3 separate regions of the Homo sapiens genome follow, and regions 2 and 3 are each linked to region 1. Evidence: promoter capture Hi-C in 16 types of primary human blood cells and fetal thymus (Javierre and others, 2016). All regions are on one chromosome and are shown on one strand. Each heading gives the region's core, a stretch centred on a gene start or on the middle of the fragment in contact. The rest is flanking DNA. Distances are from core to core; before and after follow the strand shown. Region 1 holds the start of ZNF267 (zinc finger protein 267). Region 2 holds the start of RUSF1 (RUS family member 1). Region 3 holds the start of ITGAD (integrin subunit alpha D).

Evidence for each region. The method cuts DNA at HindIII sites, captures the fragments that hold promoters and counts their contacts. A CHiCAGO score of 5 or more calls a contact.
Region 2: the fragment with the promoter of RUSF1 here is called in contact with the fragment with the promoter of ZNF267 in region 1 in 12 of 17 cell types (megakaryocytes, naive CD8 T cells, M0 macrophages and 9 more); the score reaches 12.4 in megakaryocytes.
Region 3: the fragment with the promoter of ITGAD here is called in contact with the fragment with the promoter of ZNF267 in region 1 in 9 of 17 cell types (monocytes, megakaryocytes, M2 macrophages and 6 more); the score reaches 6.7 in monocytes.

What each region holds. Positions count from the first base shown.
Region 1 is chr16:31,872,291-31,876,008 of GRCh38, reverse strand. It overlaps ZNF267 (zinc finger protein 267), which reads right to left and starts at 2,202. Exons shown (of 4, transcript NM_003414.6): 1 at 2,040-2,202. The coding sequence starts at 2,042. RefSeq lists silencers at 1,921-2,000, 2,151-2,200 and an enhancer at 2,087-2,381. The HindIII fragment of the contact is 12,710 bases long and covers 1-3,718 here.
Region 2 is chr16:31,506,217-31,509,731 of GRCh38, reverse strand. RUSF1 (RUS family member 1) reads left to right here and starts at 1,341. Exons shown (of 13, transcript NM_022744.4): 1 at 1,341-1,658; 2 at 1,854-1,968. The coding sequence starts at 1,359. It overlaps RUSF1-DT (RUSF1 divergent transcript), which reads right to left and starts at 1,268. Exons shown (of 2, transcript NR_186401.1): 1 at 696-1,268; 2 at 166-559. RefSeq lists enhancers at 791-1,360, 925-1,639, 1,640-2,355 and silencers at 1,461-1,510, 1,571-1,630. The HindIII fragment of the contact is 29,640 bases long and covers 1-3,515 here.
Region 3 is chr16:31,391,569-31,395,504 of GRCh38, reverse strand. ITGAD (integrin subunit alpha D) reads right to left here and starts at 2,170. Exons shown (of 30, transcript NM_005353.3): 1 at 2,114-2,170; 2 at 1,164-1,269. The coding sequence starts at 2,144. The HindIII fragment of the contact is 1,676 bases long and covers 2,087-3,762 here.

The sequences.
Region 1 (3,718 bases), core at 953-3,452:
GGTGAGCCCTGAGATTCTGTTTTAAATTACTCCCAAAAAAAGAACAAACCTGAGAAACTTACTACACTCATTCTGCTGAAAAAAAAGATAGTAAGAATTTTTAACAATGAAGTATGACTTGATATTTTAATTTTCTGAAATCCACCTTTCATGGCCTTGGAAATGTTTTTTATCTTTCAAGCTCTACTGATGAAATTTACACTAACTGAAAAACTGAAGTAGAAATAAATGAACAATCTAAGGCAGCAAACTCAGGGAGTGGTAATGCTGTTGGAATACAGACATATCTGGCTCAAGTGTCAAGTCAGGTCACGGTATCATTTGAGACATTCTCCTACCCCAATACTGCTCATTAAAATGCTCAGGGACCATCCTCCCAGATCCTGCACTGTGCCCCATGGACACCGCAGCCGAGTTTGCACCACCTCACTGGGGTGGGGTTTTTGTTTTTTGGTCCTTTGGGAGTTTTTCTCCCTTCACAAATCTGAATGAATCTAGGGGGCAGGAATCATTTGTGACTGTTTCCCCTCAATACCAGCAAACGATTGGCTGACCAGCAATGTGTCTCCAAGGGATGAAAACTAGCTTTGAAGAAATAAAATCCTTATGTCCCAAGGGGTTATCTTTTTAGGTTAAGGGTGTCCCAGGAGATTTCTCTCAGCCCCAGGGCATCCAGCTGCTCCCCTGAGGGACTACATTTCCATACCTTGGGCGGTCCTCTAACAGGAGGTGACCTGGGGCTGACAGTCACTAAACACTCCAGGAGACATGGCCACTGTGGGCATCTTGAGTCATCCCAGACAGTTCTGAAATTCAGGAACAGGAAAAGACTGGATAGAGGGTGGCTATACAGGGCCCTGTAAAGTTTCCAAAGCAAAACCTCAAGTCAAAAGACATTCTTTCCGATAACGTGTCTGTGCCTGGGGAAGATGAATGAAAAAGAGGCACAGTTTTTTTTGCAGTGGAGTGTCAGGGATTTTTTATTCTCTGCTTTCCTCTCACGTGAAATGTATGCCAAAAAAACACAAATCTTTAAAAAAGTGTCATCCACTGCTCTGTGAAATCATGATTAATGAGTAAAATACTGTCTGAAATGTACAATAAATGACCAATAGTTAAGAATGTGAACTGGAGAGGGGAAGTTGGCCTTTGGAAATGTCGGGAAGGAACTGGAAATTTAATATTTTATTGCAAGCCCAGTTAGACTGGGGGAACACAGTGGTGGACTTGAGACTCTGCGTGCTACACGTTAGGAAAGCGCAGGGGGAAAACCAGTTCCCCTGGGCAGTGTTAAGATGATTAATGAGCAGGCGATTATACGGAAGTGGTTATAGTGCCCCAGGTTTCTAGGGAGAAAAACCAAAACCAAACTCAAATGCTTTTCTTGTAAATTACAACTTTAGGGGAAAACAAAATTCAGACTTAACGAACCACAAAGCTCCAATTCACCTCCACCTGCATAGTCTAAATAAGGCAACTACAAACTGTAACCCATCGGTTAATTTGGTCTGCTTCCTCATGCACCTTATAAAAACCTTTCCTTCAAGCCCCTCTGGGGATCTCCGAACCACAAACCAGGACTGCAGGCTTCCCATGTCACAAATCGCTATTTGCTCAAATTCTTCAACGTTTTAACAGTGACTCCCTTTAATTCTTAAGAGGAGTAGTGACTGAGGACCCCACAGGGCACGGTTTCTTCCCACACACCGAACCTGGGTCTCCCCTGAGACGCTCCCGTCCTCACCGCACAATCTGGGGGAGACGCGGGGCTGCGACGCGGAGCTGCCCAGAGAGGGCTCCGGCCAGGGACGAGGTCGCTCTGCGGGGTCGGGATGGGACAGGACACGCGGGGTCCCGGCTGCCGGCCTGGCCGCCATCTTGCAGCGGAGGGGACCGAGGGCCGAGCTGCACCAGTTGGGACTCGGGGCCCAGACCCCGAGGCTGACTGCGGGGAGGCCCGGGTGCCCCTACAGCGGGTTCCCGCCGCTTCCGACCACCGCCCTCCCTCCCTCTGGGGACCCCCGACCCCGCACACTCACCATTTCCCAGCTTCCGGGATGCCCTGGCGTCTTAGCTACGAATCTCCCAGTGCCTGCAAGTCGCAGAGCAACAGAGGTTCTGTTTATTCTCAGAACGCGAAGCCGCCTGGGCCTCCCAGAACGAAAGACTCGGAGCTGTGGCGAGGAGACCCGAGCTCTAACTGGAGCCGACGAAGGCCCCCGCCAAATCCCGGAAGCCGCCCCTGCTCTCCGGCTTCACTCCTGATTGGACGGTTTCCACTCCAGCGCCCCTGATTGGATAAAGCTCCATGCCCCGCCCCCTCATTATTAGTGCCTTTTTTTTTTTTTTTTTTGAAAGGGAGACTGGCTCATTGAGGTGGGGCCGCCTGCTGCGGGTATTACAGCTAATTAAGGGGTGAGCTGCGACTTGAAATACACTTGCTCTTTCCCTTACCTGGTTCTGCTTGTATAAGACATCTTATTAGCTAATTAAGTTTAAGAAGAAGTATATTTAGACACCTTTAAAGCAAGAAAGACCCTCATCCCGTCCCTTAGCACCTCTCTTACCGCACTGTACCCCACTGCTAACGCCACCGTGGGAGGGGGCCCCTCAGCTGGGAACAGAAGGCCGTACACTTCATTCACGTGTTTTCAATTAGGCCCTCGCATGATACATAGACTGAACCAGTGCAAAAGCATCTTATAGGGGCATGCAGGCTGGGGTCCCAGGAGGATGTTGCGGGCCGTGGTGGAACGTGGAAGAGGGGCTGGCCTATTCTTCTAATCTACAACTCTGCCCGCATCTCCTGGAGTCTGCATCACTGGTAACGGGGCCGCTGACTGTCCGTCTGTCTCTCCTTCTCAATCCCTTCAAGCTCAGGGAAGAAGGGTCCTTGGCAGCGACAGGGCTGGGAGCTCAGTTCCTCTGGGCCGTGCTGGCTCAGGCTCTGTGGCCACGGACTCCTCAGCCCTACCTCTGGTTTTTGCTTTTGTTTTGAGACAGGGTCTCACTCTATTGCCCAGGCTGGTGCAGTGGTGCAGTCATGGCTCACTGCAGCCTCCGGGGCTCAAGCAATCTTCCCACCTCAGCCTCCTGAGTAGCTGGGACTACAGGCACATGCCACCATGCCCGGCTGATTTTTGTATTTTTTGTAGAGATGAGGTTTCACCATGTTGCCCAGGCTGGTCTCCATCTCCTGAGCTCAAGCGATCCTCCCACCTTAGCCTCCCAAGTAACTGGGGCTACAGGTTAATAGTCAGTTCGCCAACTCCTGAGCTCAAGTATTCTGTCTGCTTTGACCTGCCAGAATGCCCTATTCCTGTTTTTCTGGAGTCTTGGAGCTAGTGGCGCTGCAGCACCTCGTAGTCTTCCGGCTGAGTAGATTCTCCTAGTCTTCTGGCTGAGTAGAAGGTGGGAGAGGAGGTGGGTGTCAAACTGGGCCAGGGCCCTCGGCCGCCATCTAGCTTGGTTAAACTCCCACTTGGGACAGATCAGGCTCTGTGCCTTATTCAGTGAGACGTGTGGAACAAATGCTTCCCTCCCCAAAGCAGAAACATCCCTGATTGCTGACAGTCAGGATTCCATGCACTTGTCTTGGCCTGGGGCATGGCTGCCTCTCACCCTCTCACCCAGTTCTAGTCGCTGCACTCTGTGGCCTCCCTGCCACCAGATTAGGTGTAGACAACGGGTGTGGGACAGGGCTGCTGACACCACTGGC
Region 2 (3,515 bases), core at 92-2,591, 370 kb after region 1:
TGACCTCAAGTGATCCACCTGGCTCGACTTCCCAAAGTGCTGGAATTACAGGCGTGAGCCACCACGCCCAGCCCAAGGATCACTTTTGAGGCCAGGAGTTTGAGAGCAGCCTGGGCAACATAGGGAGGCCCTGCCTCTATTTAAATAAATATGTTTTTAAAGTACTTAGTCTTCAAACCTTGTTTTATTTTTGTCCTCTATTCAAACCAGTACCTGAATTTAGACAACATTACAGAAATGTTGTGATTAGGCCATTTGTATTTTGAAACCCGAAATTTAAAGAAAAAAAAAAAGAAAAGAAAAGAAGTGTTCAAGTTTATCTCAGTCAGAGAGAGACTGTGTTTGTGTGAGATAAGGCGAAGTGGGGTAGAAGGGCCTTCCAGGATTAAGTCCACGAGGAAGGTGACGGTTTGGGAGAATCTGAAGTTTCAAATAAGGAGTTGTCGGTTGGGATCAAACTGTGGGGATCCAAGAATGCCAGGCTAAGAAACCAGGATATTTTATTTTCTGATAAAAAGAGGATGCTTTTTTGGCAAATTTCTGCTTCGGAGTGAAGATGCTGCACTAGATGGGAAGGAGAAGAGGAGAAATGGAAAGAAGAAAAGGTGAGTTCCAAGGACAGAAACACTCCCTCTTTGGACTCCCCCCAATTTCATGGACTCTCTCCCGCAAAAAAACACACAAGAACTTCCTGCCTTGTTTCCTTGTTTTGTGACATCATTGCAATCTCTTGATTTTTTTCATCCCTCGGATTCCTTAGCATCCTTCAAAAGTAATGTTCCTGCAGTCTCGCAGAAGGCCGAAGGATGGAGAATTTCTAGTCCAGGCCAGGGACACTCAGAAGAGAGAAAAAAAAAAGAACAAAAAAAGACCCAAGCAGCTTCACAGGGCCTCATCTGGTCCAATTTCTTCTCATGATGCATTCATTCACTCATAAATATCTTTTGAGCACCTACTATGTGTTGGGTAGATCTAGGGATAAAATCAGGGTTAAAAATACAGTCGCTGGTCTCACAGCAAAAAAGGCACCTGAGGCCCAGAGAGGGCCACTGACTTGCCAAAAGTCACAAGCTAAAACTTCTGTGGCCGAACCGCGTCTCGAACACAACTGGCGGAGGCCCACGGCGCCTGCAGCCCAGCTGCAGAATGCTACAAAGCAACGGGGGCCGGTGCCGGGGCGTCCGAAGCAGCGCCGAGGCCGGAGAGAGCGACAGTCAGTTTCCTAACTGCGCGGCGGACGCCGAGGCCGGCGCCTGTTCTTGAAAGATGTCCCTCTGCAGCCGCGGTAGCCCAGCCGGAAGTGCCGCCTGCCACGTCCACCGTGCGGCAGGGGCGGGGCTGGGATCCAAAAGCTCGGCATGGCTGACGACGCGGGTTTGGAGACCCCGCTGTGTTCCGAGCAGTTCGGCTCCGGGGAGGCACGGGGCTGCCGCGCCGCCGCGGACGGGAGCCTGCAGTGGGAGGTCGGGGGCTGGCGCTGGTGGGGGCTCTCCAGGGCCTTCACGGTCAAACCTGAAGGACGAGATGCGGGCGAAGTGGGGGCTTCCGGGGCCCCCTCACCGCCCCTCTCCGGGCTCCAGGCCGTGTTCCTGCCTCAGGGCTTCCCTGATAGCGTCAGCCCGGACTACTTGCCCTACCAGCTGTGGGATTCCGTGCAGGTCAGCTCGGTCGTCTGGGGCAGAGGACAGTGCAGGCCACTCCTCCCTCCCCAATAATGGACGGGTGACTGAGACTCGGAGCCCGGGGGGCGGGGGGTCTGACATGCCTCATACACCAAGAACAAGAACAGATGAAGGCACTTAGACCGCCACGCTCCTACGCCCGCTTCTCACCCTACTTGTTTTCTTCTCCAGGCGTTTGCTTCCAGCCTCTCCGGCTCCCTAGCCACCCAGGCAGTCTTGCTGGGCATAGGGGTGGGGAACGCAAAAGCCACTGTTTCAGCTGCCACGGCCACCTGGCTCGTGAAAGGTGAGCTGCACCCCTGGAGCCTCACGTATTGCTGCTTTCAGCCCTGCTTTCGCTGGGCTCTTATGTGTATATATGTATGGACTCGTGCCCCATTAGGTAGAATTCAGGCAGGTCTCCCCAGTGATTAGAGTGGTGCTTTGTAACCCAGTCTTACTTCCCACATCTGGAAGACCCTCATCCCACTCACCAGCCTAGCAGCCGCACTCCATTCCCCACACAGACTTCTGAGTCTCAATCATCTGGATCCCAAATCCCGTCCCCTCCCCTTTATCCCTATTCTCTTTGTGGAAGATTGCATAAGAATGCAATTGATGGAATAAAACTGCCAGCTGCCCAGGATAGGGGAAATTGGTGAGCTCCAGAAAAAAAAGATATAGTTGGTCCTGAGAAGGAGAGAGGAGAGCCTGGAAAGAATGGAAGGTATTGTGTATGCTCTGGGATACCAGATGATGCTGTAAATAATAGAGTGACTATCTGCTGAATATGTACAGCTTTTAAAAAATTGTTTAAGGAAAAAAAATACAGTTTGGTACCATGCCACCCAGAGAGGGAAATAGAACAGAAAAGGGAAATTGTTACATGTTCTACACGAGGAGGCCCCATGGCTTTTGCCACTGTCCTTTGTCTTTCACTACTGCTCGCAGGGGATATTTATTAGGCTGGTGCAAAAGTAATTGCGGGGTTTCTTTGTCGTTATTGCCATTAAAGGTAATGGAAAACCCGCAATTACATTTGAGCCAACCTAATAGATCTAAGGAAAAGCGCTTTCCATTCGTAGCATCAGTCTGGCCACATCCCTTGTGAGCCTCTCTGGATTTTTTTGAGAAAACAGGAGCTTCCTGTTTACACCTTTACCATTAAGACTGAGAAAACTGGGCCGGGCACGGTGGCTCACGCCTTTAATCCTCGTACTTTGGGAGGCTGAGGCATCCTGGGCAACATAGGGAGACCCCCATCTCTATTTTTTTTTTTCCAGACTCGTAGTCTCACTGTCACCCAGGCTGGGATGCAGGAGTGCAGTGGCACAATCTCAGCTCACTGCAGCCTCCTCCTCCCGGGTTCAAGCGATTCTCCTGCCTCAGCTTCCCAAGTAGCTGGGATTACAGGCATGTGCCACCCTGCCCCGCTAATTTTTTGTATTTTTAGTAGAGACAGAGTTTCACCATGTTGGCCAGGCTGGTCTCGAACTCCTGACTTCGGGTGATCCATTCGCCTCAGCTTCCCAAAGTGCTGGGATTATAGGCGTGAGCCACTGCGCCCGGCTTGTTGGCCGTATTTTTGGAATGCATTTGGAGCTTGGGTCAGTAGTTTTTGTTTTCATGTGATGTCACCAACATGTTGCCTATACAGATTGAATATCCCTTATCCAAAATGCTTGCAACCAGAAGTGTTTTGGATTTTGGAATTTTTTTTGGATTTTGGAATATCTTCATGTATATAATGAGATTTGTTGGGGATCAGACTCAAGTCTAAACATGAAATTCGTTTATGTTTCATATATACTTTATACACATACCTTAAAGGCAGTTTTATACAGTATTTTCAAT
Region 3 (3,936 bases), core at 921-3,420, 480 kb after region 1:
TAACTGACTTTACCCAGCTCATGCCAGGGGCGGAAGGTAGCAGCGGTCATTGCTCCCACATGGGTGGGGGAGCCAGCAGCTGATACCCCTTCACCACCCTTCAGGAGGCGGTGGGAGGTGGGGCTGCTGCTGAGCTAAGGCTCCAAACCCCCAGTGCATCTCCCTTCTCCCATGACTTTTTTTTTTTGACGGAGTCTCACTCTGTCACCTAGGCTGGAGTAAAGTGGCACGATCTCGGCTCACTGCAACCTCCACCTCCCAGGTTCAAGCGATTCTCCTGCCTCAGCCTCCCAAGTAGCTGGGATTACAGATGCCTGCCACCATGCCCGGCTAATTTTTTTTGCATTTTTAGTAGAGATGGGGTTTTGCTGTGTTGGCCAAACTGGTCTCAAACTCCTGGCCTCAGATGATCTGCCCGCCTCAGCCTCCCAAAGCGTTGGGATTATAGGCGTGAGCCATGGTGCCCAGCCCTGCCATCATTCTTTACTTGCAAAACACAAATGCACAGATAAAATTTTTAAGAATTGGCAAGACAGGGTGGCTCACACCTGTAATCCCAGCACTTTGGGAGGCCAAGGCAGGAGGATTGCTTGAGCCCAGGAGTTCAGCCAGTCTGGACAACATAGCAAGACTCCATCTCTGTAAAAAGTAAAACAAAACAAAACAAAAAACAGGCATGATGGCATGCACCTGTGGTCCCAGCTATTCAGGAGGCTGAGGTGAGAGGATCACTTGTGCCCGAGAGTTTGAGGCTGCAGTAAGCTGTGATTGCACCACTGCACTCCAGCCTGGGTAACAGAGCTGGAGTAAAAATAAAAATAAAAATAATCAGGAATTTCAAGAGGTCAAGGGCAGAACATTAAACTCCAAAGTTAATGAGTGTGGGCCCTGTGTGACCATACTGGCCCCAAGAAGTGGGCCCTGCCTGGGAGGCAGGTTCAAGGCTTCCCTCCCGAGGTAAGGTAGGGTCTTGTCTAGAGTTTTGTGGCCTTTCCTGGGATTGAGAATAATAGGTGCTGATGTCAGGGCCTCCAAGGAGCCAAGGGAAGACTTCTCACCCCTGCTGGCCTTCCTCCAGGACACCTCCCTGGGGTAACCCACGTGTACCCATCCACAGGACTTGATGTAGTGGAGGTTGGGGAAGGAGGGTGAGTGGGGCCTACCGAGATCCACCGAACTGCACCACGCTCTGCCCAAAGCCGCCTGCATCCTCCTGGAAGATCGTAGGCTCCTCCACATCCAGGTTGAATCCATGATAAGAAGCCAGGACTGAGGAATATTTGGTGGGCGGGGAGGCTGGGAGTTAAAGAAGCCCCAATCCCTAGGACCTCCCAGCCTCTTTTTCTTTTTTTTCTTTTTTTTTTTTTTTTTTTTGAGATGGAGTCTCGCTCTGTTGCTGAGGCTGGAGTGCAACGGCACGATCTCAGCTCACTGCAACTTCCGTCTCCTGGGTTCAAGCGATTCTCTTGCCTCAGCTTCCCAAGTAGCTGGGATTACAAGTGCACGCCACCATGCCCGGCTAATTTTTATATTTTTGGTAAAGATGGGGTTTCACCATGTTGGCCAGGCTGGTCACAAACTCCTGACCTCAGGGGATACGCCCATCTCGGCCTCCCAAAGTGCTGGGATTATAAGCATGAGCCACCGCACCCAGCCAAGCCTGATTTTTGATGGCACGTGAATGTGACTCTGATGCAGTTTTCAGCAGGGGGCCTCTTCCCTACGTGCAGTCAGGACTTGGGGGAAACAGGCCCAGGGAGGTGATGTCCAACCTTTCCCCCTCCCTGGTGGCTTCTGTGGCCTTCCACTCCCGGGGGAGGCTGGGGAGACCTCTGTCACCCACACCAGGGACTCCATGAGTGGGAGCAGGGAAGCCTGGGACAACATAGCCAGCTGGAGAGGTAGCTTAGTCGCCACCTGAGCACAGCCCCTGAGCCCCTCTTCATTCAGGTCACACTCTACTGACTCCGGGCCACTCGCACATGAAGCACTCCCCTGCCTCAGCTCCTCATAAGAGTGGTTGGAGCCGACCACCAGCCCCCAGCCTGCCCTCCCAGATGGAGTCCCCTCAGAACTCCTCCAAGCTTCTCCCCAGCACCCTGGCCCCACTTACCACTCAGAAGAAGCACAGTGCCGAAGGTCATCCCTGAGCAGCGCGTTGAGGGGAAGTGGAAGGTTGGGGACAGAGCACAGAAGGTGCTCACCCTCCCAGGGGGTAGTTAAAATAATGATTCAGGGCCTCCACACAGCAGGAAGAGGGGCACAGTGGGTAGGAGGGGCGTGGTTAATTATGGAACAGAAGTGGGGGCAGGGGCCAACAACACCCTGGGGAAAAACCCTCATTCTGTCCCCCTCCACAACCTGCAGGGACCTGGCTTCCTTCTCCCAGAAGACCACCCTCCCCCAGGCCTCAGGAGCCAGTTGGTACCCAGGGAGCCCCGTAGCTCTCTGAGGTCCCACAGGAGTGGAAGGACAGGAAGCAGAATGGCTGCAGAGGTCTTGGCATGTGGATGTGAGCCGGCAGAGAGGCAGGGAGAAGGGGAGCTAGGCCAGGGTGTGGTTTCAAAAAGCAGAGCCCCTCCAGAGGAGAATGGACACCCAAAATAATAAAGTCATGCCATGGGCTACTACTCAGCAAGAAATAAGATCAAACTACAGATCAGATGCCATGGCTCATGCCTGTGGTCCCAGAGCTTGGCAGGTGGATTGCTTGAGGCCAACAGTTCGAGACCAGCCTAGGCAACATAGCCAGACCCTGTCTTTACAATAAATAACAAAGAACAAACTGCAGTTCTGTACAACAATACAGGTTAACTCAATTTTATCTTAAGTGAAAGAAACCAGACACCAGAATGCCTAATGTCTGGTTCCTTTCATATACAAGAGAATGGGCAAAATTCATCTACGAAGATAGAAATCAGAAGAGTGGTTGTCTATGGTGGGGCAGAGAGGAAACTTTTTTTTTTTTTGACAAGTTTTGCTATGTCGCCCATGCTGGAATGCAGTGGCATGATCAGGGCTCACTGCAGCCTCAAATTCCCAGACTCAAGCAATTCTCCCACCTCAGCCTCCCAGTCACTGGGATTACTGATGCACACCACCATGCCCAGCTAATTTTTTTGTTTTTTGTAGAGACGAGATCGCACTATGTTGCCCATGCTGGTCTCGAGCTCCTGGACTCAAGCAATCCTCCCACCTCCTCCTCCCAAAGTACTGGGATTACAGGCGTGAGCCACCACATCCAGCCAGGAACCTTTAGCATGTGTTAAATTTAGCATTTAACACAATATTTTAATATTTATTACATGGGGTTGGGGAGAAGATAAATGAGTGGTTGTTATTTATTTTCTGTGATTTTTCTGTATGTTTGAAATATTCCATGATTAAACATAAAAGTTCCTTTAAAATGTGAAAAAGAAAAAGGTCTATATATAAAAGGCTAGGAATAGGCCAGGCGCAGTGGCTCACACCTATAATCCCAGCACTTTGAGAGGCTGAGGTGGATGGATCACCTGAGGTCAGGAGTTTGAGACCAGCTCTGGCCAATATGGTGAAACCCCGTCTCTACTAAAAATACAAAAATTAGCTGGGCATGGTGGTGCGCACCTGTAATCCCAGCTACTCAGGAGGCTGAGGCAGGAGAATCGCTTGAACCCAGGAGGTAGAGTTTGCAGTGAGTCAAGATTGCGCCACTGCACTCCAGCCTGGGCGACAGAGCAAGACTGTCTCAATAAATAAAAAATAAAAAATAAATAAAAAGCTTAGGAATATACTTTGAAGGTTAAAATATAACAAGATCCCTACCTATAACATAAATTATTTTGTATATATATGTGACAATTATTTAAAACATTTGGCTGGGCACAGTGGCTTATGTCTGTAATTCCAGCACTTTGGGAGGCTGAGGCAGGTGTATAGCTTGAGGTCAGGAGTTCG